Regions from separate parts of the Homo sapiens genome. Here region 1 is linked to region 2. The links are contacts of gene promoters, found by promoter capture Hi-C in human tissues and cell types (Jung and others, 2019). All regions are on one chromosome and are shown on one strand. The core of a region is centred on a gene start or on the middle of the fragment in contact, and the rest is flanking DNA. Distances in the headings are between cores, read along the strand shown. Region 1 overlaps SMIM19 (small integral membrane protein 19). Region 2 holds the start of IKBKB (inhibitor of nuclear factor kappa B kinase subunit beta).

Region 1 (5,255 bases), core at 1,714-4,213, 280 kb after region 2:
TGAAACCCCGTCTCTACTAAAAATACAAAAAAGTAGCCGGGCGCGGTGGTGGGCTCCTATAGTCCCAGCTAGTCAGGAGGCTGAGGCAGGGGAATGGTGTGAACCCGGGAGGCGGAGCTTGCAGTGAGCCGAGATCGTGCCACTGCATTCCAGCCTGGGTGACAGAGCGAGACTCTGTCTCAGGGAAAAAAAAAAAAAAAAATGCCAAATGCCAAATACCTCTGTACCTCTCACTCAAAAAAATCCACAGCCAGTCTTTAGTATCTAGGAATTGGGTATAGTCTAGTGTTTAAACAATATTTAGATAGTGCATCTGCAAATTTTTACAACTTAATTTCTGTTTTTATTGTTCTCTGGCTAATTTTCACGAGACAAATCTTTATATTCAGCAGACACCCATAGTTAGTTTAGTCAAATCACTCCTGCCCTCAGTGTGAAGAGTTGAAGTTAAATGGCTGTTCATGATACTCACTTTATTCTAAAGGAGTACAGTATGTCCCCAAACATCTGACAAAGTCACGTTGTCAGAAAGGCAGAAACATGCCATGTGGCTTAGGAACAGACCTCTCCTGAAATTTCATTTTTCTCATATAGAGGCAAGCTAAAAGAAAGAACTCTGCCCTCAAAACATGTATATTAACTAGCTGGCCAAATCTACACTAATGAACACTTTGGAGGTTTACAGCATGGACTCCTGCAAGACATTTTAGTGAAAGAATTTTTGTAATGCCTTCATTGTTGTAGGCAGCGTAGAAAAAAATCACCAAACAACTTTTTAGACTGTTTTTCTTGGTATTAGAAAATGACTGATTCTCAGAAACTACAGTGCAACTATCACTTATATTTGTCCATTTTTCTCCTGTATATAGAGTGTCTAAAACAACACTTCTGGATTTTCTTTACATATTAGGTCATTTTACTTAGACTTACCTTTTATGTCCCAACACAAGGGAGGAACTCTCTTTAAAGAAAAATTCAGTTAACTTCTCAAACACAAAGAAGAAGTCATTACTTTTACTTGCTGTTTGATGCACTTGCTGTGACCACTCTAACTTTCTGTGGGAATGTCCAAAGAATGCATTTCCTAGGGTAGATGTCACAGCTGTGTCAATAGCAAAATGTATCTTTTCATCCCATAGCTTCTTTCAACCAAATTTGTCCAGCAGGCCAAAACTAGATAAAGCTCTAAACGTTTCCCAGTGTGGGAGGCATGCGGGGTGAGAGAGCCATGTTCTGGCTGTCACATCCTTGCTAGGCTGCTGTGCAACACTTTTGTAGCAGCACAGCCAGGTGTTGAGTCTCTGTGGTTTTTGTTTTTTGAGATGGAGTCCCGCTCTGTCACCCAGGCTGCATTGCAACTGCCTGACCTCCGCTCACTGTAACCTCCGTCTCCCAGGTTCAAGCAATTCTTCTGCCTCATCCTCCCAAGTAGCTGGGATTACAGTCACCCGCCATCATGCCCAGCTAATTTTTTGTATTTTTAGAGAAACAGGGTTTCACCATGTTAGCCAGGCTGGTCTTGAACTCCTGACCTCAGGTGATCACCCACCTCGGCCTCCCAGAGTGCTGGGATTACAGGCCTGAGCCACCACGCCCAGCAGAGTCTCTGTTTTAAAGTATTCTGTTACTTTCCTCTGGGTGTTACAATTTGGAAACTGCAATAACATTTCAAGCTCAGTCCTTTTAGTAATATTATTTTTTATCCCAAGTTTCTTAAAGGGCCAGATTGTAAATATTTTAGGTTTTGTGGGCTTTGAAACAAAATCAATATTGTGTAGGTGCAGTCCTTGGTATTTGGGAGATTGGTGCCAGGACCCCCTCAGATATCAAAATCCGTAGATGCCCAAGTCCCGATATAAAATGGCATAGTATTGCATATAACCTAAGCACATCCTCTATGTACTTTAAATCATCTCTAAGCACTTACAATACCTAATACAATGTAAATGCTATGTAAATAGTTGGTATAATGTATTTTTTAAAATTTGTATTTTTTCCCAAATATTTTCCATTCACAGTTGGTTGATTATGTGGATGCAGAACCGTCAGATAGAGAGGGCCAACTGCACCATTTAAAATGTGCCACTTAGAAATGTAAATCCCATTCTTGGCTCATGGGCCGCACACAAACAGGTGGTGGACTGGATTTGGCCAGCAGGCCATATGTTTGCCAACCCTTCTCCAGACAGTGCTACCATCATTAATTAAAAGAAACCCTGCTTTCTTTTCTCTCTTACAGCCCCATGGCTGGGGGTTATGGAGTGATGGGTGACGATGGTTCTATTGATTATACTGTTCACGAAGCCTGGAATGAAGCCACCAATGTTTACTTGATAGTTATCCTTGTTAGCTTCGGTCTCTTCATGTATGCCAAAAGGTAAATTTTTGTTTCTCAGGGTAGATAAAAACTGTGCATTTACAAGTTTTGCTAGTTTAAGAAATATGAAATGAATGCATAAAAGTAATTTCATCAGGCTGGACGCAGTGGCTCACACCTGTAATCCCAGCACTTTGGGAGGCCGAGGTGGGCAGATCACGAGGTCAGGAAATTGAGACCATCCTGGCCAACATGGTGAAACCCTGTCTCTACTAAAAATACAAAAATTAGCTGGGCATGGTGGTGCGTGCCTGTAATCCCTGTTACTTGGGCGGCTGAGACAGGAGAATCACTTGAACCAGGGAGTTGGAGGTTGCAGTGGTGTACTCCAGCCTGGCGACAGAGCAAGACTCCGCCTCAGAAAAAAAAAGAAAGAAATTTCATTATAATTTTTGTTCTAGTGCTGAAAGACACTGTCTACTCTGGTCTCAAGCATTGGTGGCCAAGGTTTGGCTCTGAAAACCCCATTGCTGGCCAGACACGGTGGCTCACACCTGTAATCCCAGCATTTTGGGAGGCTGAGGCTGGTGGACCTCCTGAGGTCAGGAGTTCAAGACCAGTCTGGCCAACATGGTGAACCCCGTCTCTACTAAAAATAAAAAAATTAGCTGGGCGTGATGGCGTGAGCCTGTAATCCCAGCTACTTGGGAGGCCGAGGCAGGAGAATCACTTGAACATGGGAGGAGGATGCAGTGAGACAAGATCGTGCCATTGCACTCCAGCCTGGGCGACAAAGTGAGACTCCATCTCAAAAAAAAAAAAGAAAACCCCATCGCTTTAAGAAATGAAGAGTTAAGTACCACTCTCAGCCCCCAGGCCAGCTGCACTAAACTCTCAATTCTGCAATTTCTAATATAGCCCAATTTTATCATCCAGCCTGGGTTCATTGTCACCCTTCATTGAGCACATTTTTTTTGGCTTAAGTCCCTGAATGCAGAAACACTGACTCCTGTGTATTCAGCAGATCTCCCTTTAGCCAGTATAAGCTTTTCCTTGTTTTTTGTGCATGACTATATCATAGCACTTATTAAACAATGTTAGTTTTATCTGATTACTTGTCTGTCCATTCCACAACATGTCTTTTTTGTCTTTTACTTTTGGGTCCTTGGTGTGCCATATAGTGTAAATCTTCAATAAGTATTTCCTGCTTTAATTCCAGATGTTGTAGCTTAATTTAACTGCTTTTCCACATTCCCTGGCTCCTTTCCCAGAAGTACAGTAAAAAGGGGGAGGTGCAGGGATGCTTTAAAAAGAGGAAGAGCAGTGTTAGATTGGGATGCTTCTGCAGACACATGCTTTACAGGTATCCTGTCCCAAGGTAAAAAGGCATTCGAGAGTTCAAGGTAATTAGTAATCCAGAAATAATTTACGTTTGGCCTGAGGAATCATTCAGAGCCCGCACTTGCGCCCAGATCTCAGCTGAACCCTCCTGGAGCAGCTGGCCTGTTGGCTGCTGAACTCTAGGGGTGGTGAGAGGAGGCACCCTGACCATCACTGATCACCTGGCAGGTGACCGCTTTCCTCTAAAAACAGCCACCGCCGCCTCCCCATGTTTCTTTTAAAAGCAGAGGCACGCTGTTCTTAATTTTAAAAAGATGTCTCCACTAAGCCCATCCTATTGTATTTAAGAAATATGTTTATTCATTACTTTCCAAAATTAGGATCTGCTCACATTCAGTTTATTCTCCAGCCCAGTCATTTAGCTTTATCTGGATGTCATGAAAGGGAGGAAAAATCAGCTGTTTTCTTGTTTGTGATTTTCTCATAGGATATTTGGCTTTTGGAGGATTGAGGAGAATCACAATGGAGGAACTTCACTTTGTTGTGTTAAATGGATGTGTTCAGCTACTTTTCTCACAGCCTCATACTTTTTAGTGAAAGAAAGAATACTTTGAGCCAAGGAAGCAGCTCTCAAAGACAAAATAGAAAGTAAAATGGTCTTGTCATTTAAGTCCTTTTACCACAGCTTCTGATGACCAGGATCATGAGCATATTACAACTCTATAGACATTAATACAAACATCTCTTCTGCATGGATTTTGTGTTTAGGAACAAAAGGAGAATTATGAGGATATTCAGTGTGCCACCTACAGAGGAAACTTTGTCAGAGCCCAACTTTTATGACACGATAAGCAAGATTCGTTTAAGACAACAACTGGAAATGTATTCCATTTGTAAGTATATTCTGTGCTGAAAGATACACATATGCACATTTAAAATAGATTTTCTGGAATTGAGTTCATTTAGCAAAATGTTATTAGAAATCGTAAGTAATGAAAACTTAGTACTTCTTTCAGATGTTTAATATGTTTTTCAGATACTTATCCTTTGTTCCTTTTGTATTTTATACCATTTGCATGTGTTACTGGCTCAAAATAAGACATATAACTTAATTCAACATAGCAGCATTATTCACAATAGCCAAAAGGTGGAAATCACCCATAAGTCCTCAGCCCATGAATGAATAAACAAAGTGTGGTGCATACAATAGAATGTTATTCAGCCCTTAAAAGGAAGGACATTCTGGCCGGGAGTGGTGGCTCACACCTACAATCCCAGCACTTTGGGAGGCTGAGGTGGGTGGATCACAAGGTCAGGAGTTCAAGACCAGGCTGGCCAAGATGGTGAAACCCTGTCTCTACCAAAAATACAAAAATAAGCTGGGCACACTTGCGGGTGCCTGTCATCCCAGCTACTCGGGAGGCAGAGGCAGGAGAATCGCTCGAACCTGGGAGGCAGAGGTTTCAGTGGCCTAAGATCACACCACTGGACTGTAGCCTGGGCGACAGAGCAAGACTCCGTCTCAAAAAAAAAAAAAGAAGTACATTCTGACATGCTACACATGGATGAACCTTGAAGACAGTACACTAAGTGAAAT
Region 2 (5,341 bases), core at 441-2,940:
GGGGAAGGAAGGAAGGAAAAGAGAGAGAGAGAGAAAGAAAAAGAGAAAGGAGAGGGAAGAGGGGAGAGGGGAGAAACCGAGCAGCCAGCGTGCCTAGCACAGCCCTGGACACCATTGACCCCTATGTTTGGGTTGAGATCTGTCCCTGAGTTAACTTCAACCCCAGGGCTGTCAGGCACTGCTGCTATCAATACCTCATTTGTCCCTCACAACAACTCTGGGGTGGCCTCCTTTCTATGACTTTCTATGAGCCCGCCTGTCCCCCTGCTATTACAATGAAGCAGATGAAACTGCTGATCTTTGTTACTGATGTTTTGGCTGTTTTCAATTTCCAAAAAATGACAATTAAATGCAATTCAACCTAATATTGCCTAAATTTTAAAAGAGGAAATAGGTTCTCACAGTGTTTAAGTAACCAGCCCCCGTGCCTCAGAGGTAGTCAACAGCAGTATCTGGATTCAAAATCCAGTTTGCCTCCTTCTGAACTTCTTAACATGCTACTTTTAGCCACGGATTAAGAACCCGGGAACCAGTTGCTAGGGTTTGAGTATCAGCTCATCTACGTAGCAGCCATGTACCTTGGAAATAATAATAATGCAGACCAGGTGCAGTGGCTCACAGCCTGTAATCTCAACACTTTGGGAAGCCCAGGCGGGTGGATCCCTTGAGCCCAGGAGTTGGAGACCAGCCTGGGCAACACAGTGAGTGAGACCCCGCCACCAGGTATGGCGGCCGCGCACCTGTAGTCAGGAGAATCACTTGAGCCCAGGAGTTGGAGGTTGCACTGAGCTGTGATCACACCACTGCACTCCAGCCTGGGTGACAGAGCGAGATAATAATAATAATGATGATGATGATGCAGTATTTTCCAATTTACAGGGTTGCCCTGAGGATTGAATAAGGAAATCTAAGTACAGAGATTTAGAACAGAGCCCTGCACTGTGTAAGCACTCTATAGATGTGAGCTATTATTATCATCTTCAGGTTCCTTTGGTAGTTTTTTTCTGCTTGAATAAAATATAGCAACACACACACACACCTCCTTTGTCCACTAATGTAATCCCATAAAACGGAGAAACTCAGCAGTGAGGACATTCTGATTCCAAGCAGGAAGGAGATGAACGATGAACCTCAGGCTGAGCGCCTCACGGTTTCCTCATGTCACCGGGGCTGGGGGTGCAGTTTGGCTTCACACTGCTAGGTCTTTTCTTGTTTTTAAGGGGGCAGGGGCTGTCACCTCTGAGGAGTCAGCTGTGATTGATCCTTCTCCACACCCAGCCAAGCACCCCCCAGACAGGGGAGCGCCCGCAGTAGGGCGGTAGGCAAGGGCAGTTCTAGCCAACAGTCCCTAAATCATCCCAGCGGGGGCGCGGGAAATTCCACCGAGGTGAAAGCCTAGGGGGCCGGGTGAAGAAATCCCCATACCCGGGCCCAGAAACCGCTCCAGGTGGAAGTAACTTGTCTAAAGAGAACAGGGTGTAACGGGGGTCATTTCAGGGCTGTTCTTTTAAATCGGTGAGCACGGTCTGTCTACTTTCCCTCAGTTGTCTAGAGACCACACGCCACCCCCGCCCCGGGGGAGTCGCCCGGTCGAGGGTCCCGGGACAGGCGCAGCACTCGCAGCATCCGGACCTGGTCTGCCTCGCGCCGGGAGCGGCCTCTTTAAGAGCGGCCGCGGCCAACGTGCTCCGTGACGTCAGAGCAGGAAGTGTTTGAGGAAGTCGCGCCGCGCTGCCCGCGTTAAGATTCCCGCATTTTAATGTTTTCAGGGGGGTGTCATAGCCCCGGGTTTGGCCGCCCCAGCCCCGCCTTCCCCGCCCCGGGGAGCCCGCCCCCTGCCCCGCGTCCCTGCCGACAGGTGAGTCCCCCTCGTGGGTGCGGCCCGGGTGCCACCTGCAGGCCCCGCCGCCCCGCTGCCTGCAAGGCCCGGAAGACCCCTCTGTGCCGCTGGGAAGTCGCAGCTTGCGGACTGGGGAGCGTTTCACTTGTGCGGGTTGGAGTTCGGGAAGCCGGGAGAAACAGCTCTCCCTGGGGTGGCTTCTTGGGGGTGGGTGGCTTTGAGGGGAACCTGCGATTTATGGGAACATTGTAAAGAAACACGTGACCTCGGCGATGCTCAGAAGTAGGTTCTGCCCCTGCCACCTCGGGCAGAAGGCGGGCAGGCCCGGGCGCCCCTGGTGGAGTCAGCTGGGGATCCCCTCGCTAGGGCAAGGGCGTGGGCATCGCCTCCCTCGGTGACTTTCTTCCTTGCCTGATGCCACAGCAACCGGATGGGGGAGGGTGAGAGGGACAAAAGTTTGCCACAAAGTTTGGACCAACCAAACACATTGGTTTCTTTACAAAATAAAAAACCAGTTGTATTTTTCTTCTCTCCCATTCAAGAGCAGTGGTATCTCTTGCCTTCTCCATCCCTTTGAGCTCCATTTTTTTCTTAATCCTAACCTTTTTTCCCCATCCCAAATTGCTTATAGAGTTAGCACGACATCAGTATGAGCTGGTCACCTTCCCTGACAACGCAGACATGTGGGGCCTGGGAAATGAAAGAGCGCCTTGGGACAGGGGGATTTGGAAATGTCATCCGATGGCACAATCAGGTAGGCCCTCTGTGCAGCTTGGGGAGGGGCGGGGAGCCAGGCCCCCTCCTCACTGCCTCCACTTTCTCTGATCCTGCTGGGCCAAGGGCTCACCTTTGGCTTTGGTCATCTTGGGACAGTGAATAGGGGGACTGGGAAGAGGGCTTCAGGACTTCTGAGCTGACTCCAGGTTAGTGGTCTCCATGCTTTATTGACTATGTCACCTAAATAAATAGTAAAATAAAGTTAAGCTCTTAGTCTCTATTATATATATATGGTAACAGTAGAATATCATGTACTAATATATACTGATATTATATGTTATAAAACATATAGAAATAGGAAAATTTAAAGGATGAGACTAAATAAATAATTTAAAATATTTTAATTCCTTGAGGCCAGTAGTTCAAGAGCAGCCTGGGCAACATAGCAAGACCTCGTCTCTACAAAAAAGGTTTAAAAATTAGGCAGCCAGCTGGGCGTGGTGGCTTATACCTGTAATCTCAGCACTTTGGGAGGCTGAGGCAGGCGGATCACGCAGTCAGGAGATGGAGACCATCCTGGCTAACACTGTGAAACCCCATCTCTACTAAAAATACAAAGAATTAGCCAGGCTTGGTGGCACGTGCCTGTAGTCCCCAGCTACTTGGGAGGCTGAGGCAGGAGAATCGCTTGAACCCATGAGGCGGAGGTTGCAGTGAGCCAAGATTGCGCTACTGCACTCCAGCCTGGGTAACAGAGTGAGACTCCGTCTCAAAAAAAAAAAAAAAAAAAAAACCTTAGGCAGCCTTGGTGCGTACCTGTAGTCCCACTACATTGGAGGCTGATGTGGGAGGATTGCTTGTCCAGGAGTTTGAGGCTGTAGTGAGCTATGATTGTGCCACTGCACTCTAGCCTAGGTGACAGAGTGAGACCTTGTTTCAAAACCATTTTTTAAAAATTATTTTAAATGTCGGGTGCAGTGGCTTACACCTGTAATCCCAGCACTTTGGGAGGCCGAGGCAGGAGGATCACTTGAGGTCAGGAGTTTGAGACCAGCCTGGCCAACATGGTGAAACCTCATCTCTACTAAAAATACAAAATTAGCTGGTGTGGTGGTGCATGCCTGTAACTTCAGCTACTCAGGAGGCTGAGGCAGGAGAATCGCTTGAACCCAGGAGGCAGAGGTTGCAGTGAGCCGAGATAGTGTCACTGCATTCCAGCCTGGGTGACAGAATGAGACCCTGTCTCAAAAAATATATATATATATATATATTTAAAATATTTGCTAATTATGATGTCTTCCCAGTATTGCTTGCGATACTGCACGGCAAAAAATAAGCAGATCCACATGAAAGTGAGAATTCATTTAGAATGATGATGAAAATCCATATTTCAAATAATTAACATTTTTTTAAATTTTGTAGAGATGGGGTCTTGCTATGTTGCCCAGGCTTGTCTCAAACTCTCATCCTCAAGCAGTCTTCCCGTCTTTGCCTCCCAAAATGTTTGGATTACAGGCCTGAGCCATGGGACCTGGCCTCAGCTGAGGTTTTTTTTTTATTTTTTGTAGTGATGGTGGTCTCACAATGTTGTCCAGGCTCGTCTAGAACTCTTGGCCTCAAGTGATCTTCCTGCCTTGGCCTCTCAAAGTGCTGGGATTACAGCCATGAGTCATTGAACCTGGCCTGTTTTTATTTTTAATTGACACATAATAATTGTACATATTTATGGGGTACAGTGTGATATTTTGATACATAATGTGTAATGATCAAATCGGGGTAATTGGCGTGTTCATCACTTGAAACACGTATCCTTTTTGTTGGAAACAGTCAAAATTCTTTCTTCTGGCTATTTTGAAATATACAATATTTTTTTTTTTCCGGAGACAGAGTCTCGCACTGTTGCCCAGGCTGGAGTGCAGTGGTGTGATCTTGGCTCACTGCAACCTCCGCCTCTTGAGTTCAAGTGATTCTCCTGCCTCAGCCTCCTGAGTACCTGGAATTACAGGTGTGCACCACCATGCCAGCTAATTTTTGTATTTTTAGTAGAAATGGGGTTTCACCATGTAGGCCATGCCGGTCTCAAACTCCTGACCTCAGGTGATCTGCCCACCTCAGCCACCCAAAGTGCTTGGATTACAAGCGTGAGCCACTACGTCCGGCCTGAAATATACAATAAAGTTTTATTCACTGTAGTCACCCTGTTGTTCTTTAGAATACTGTAACTTATTCCACCTAACCGTAATTTTGTACCCATTAACCAGTCTCTCCCTATTTCCCTCCACAACTCCCCCCACCCCCACCACCCTTTCCTGCCTCTGGTGACCACTATTCTACTTTCTACTTCTGCGAGATTAGTTTGTTGTTGTTGTTGTTGTTGTTTTGAGACGGAGTTTTGCTCTTGTCGCCCAGGCTGGAGTGCAGTGGCGCGATCTTGGCTCACTGCAACCTCTGCCTCCCAGGTTCAAGTGATTCTCCTGCCCCAGCCTCCCGAGTTGCTGAGATTACAGGTGCCTGCCACCACACCTGGCTAATTTTTGTATTTTTAATAGAGACGGGGTTTCACCATGTTGGCCAGGCTGGTCTCGAACTCCTGAACTTAGGTGATCCCCGCCGGCGCGCCCCCCCCCCCCCCCGCCATCCCAGCCTCCCAAAGTGCTGGGATTACAGGTGGGAACTACCGAGCCTGGACGAGATCAGTTTTTTTTTGTTTGTTTGTTTTGTTTTTTGAGATGGATTCTTGCTCTGTTGCCCAAGCTGGAGTGCAGTGGCACAATCTTGGCTCGC

What was found. Contacts are between HindIII fragments. The study calls those that stand out against the background at their distance.
Region 1: a fragment that was not itself captured here is called in contact with the fragment with the promoter of IKBKB in region 2 in 1 of the 25 tissues and cell types used here (heart left ventricle).

What each region holds. Positions count from the first base shown.
Region 1 is chr8:42,544,230-42,549,484 of GRCh38, forward strand. It overlaps SMIM19 (small integral membrane protein 19), which reads left to right. Exons shown (of 4, transcript NM_001135674.2): 2 at 2,240-2,377; 3 at 4,427-4,551. The coding sequence starts at 2,244. Among named protein-coding and RNA genes, the nearest start is that of SMIM19, 5.3 kb to the left of the region's middle. The HindIII fragment of the contact is 4,156 bases long and covers 886-5,041 here.
Region 2 is chr8:42,269,612-42,274,952 of GRCh38, forward strand. It overlaps IKBKB (inhibitor of nuclear factor kappa B kinase subunit beta), which reads left to right and starts at 1,691. Exons shown (of 22, transcript NM_001556.3): 1 at 1,691-1,858; 2 at 2,472-2,594. The coding sequence starts at 2,490. It overlaps IKBKB-DT (IKBKB divergent transcript), which reads right to left and starts at 1,639. Exons shown (of 4, transcript NR_185843.2): 1 at 1,040-1,639. RefSeq lists an enhancer at 686-1,185 and a silencer at 1,682-1,971. The HindIII fragment of the contact is 8,594 bases long and covers 522-5,341 here.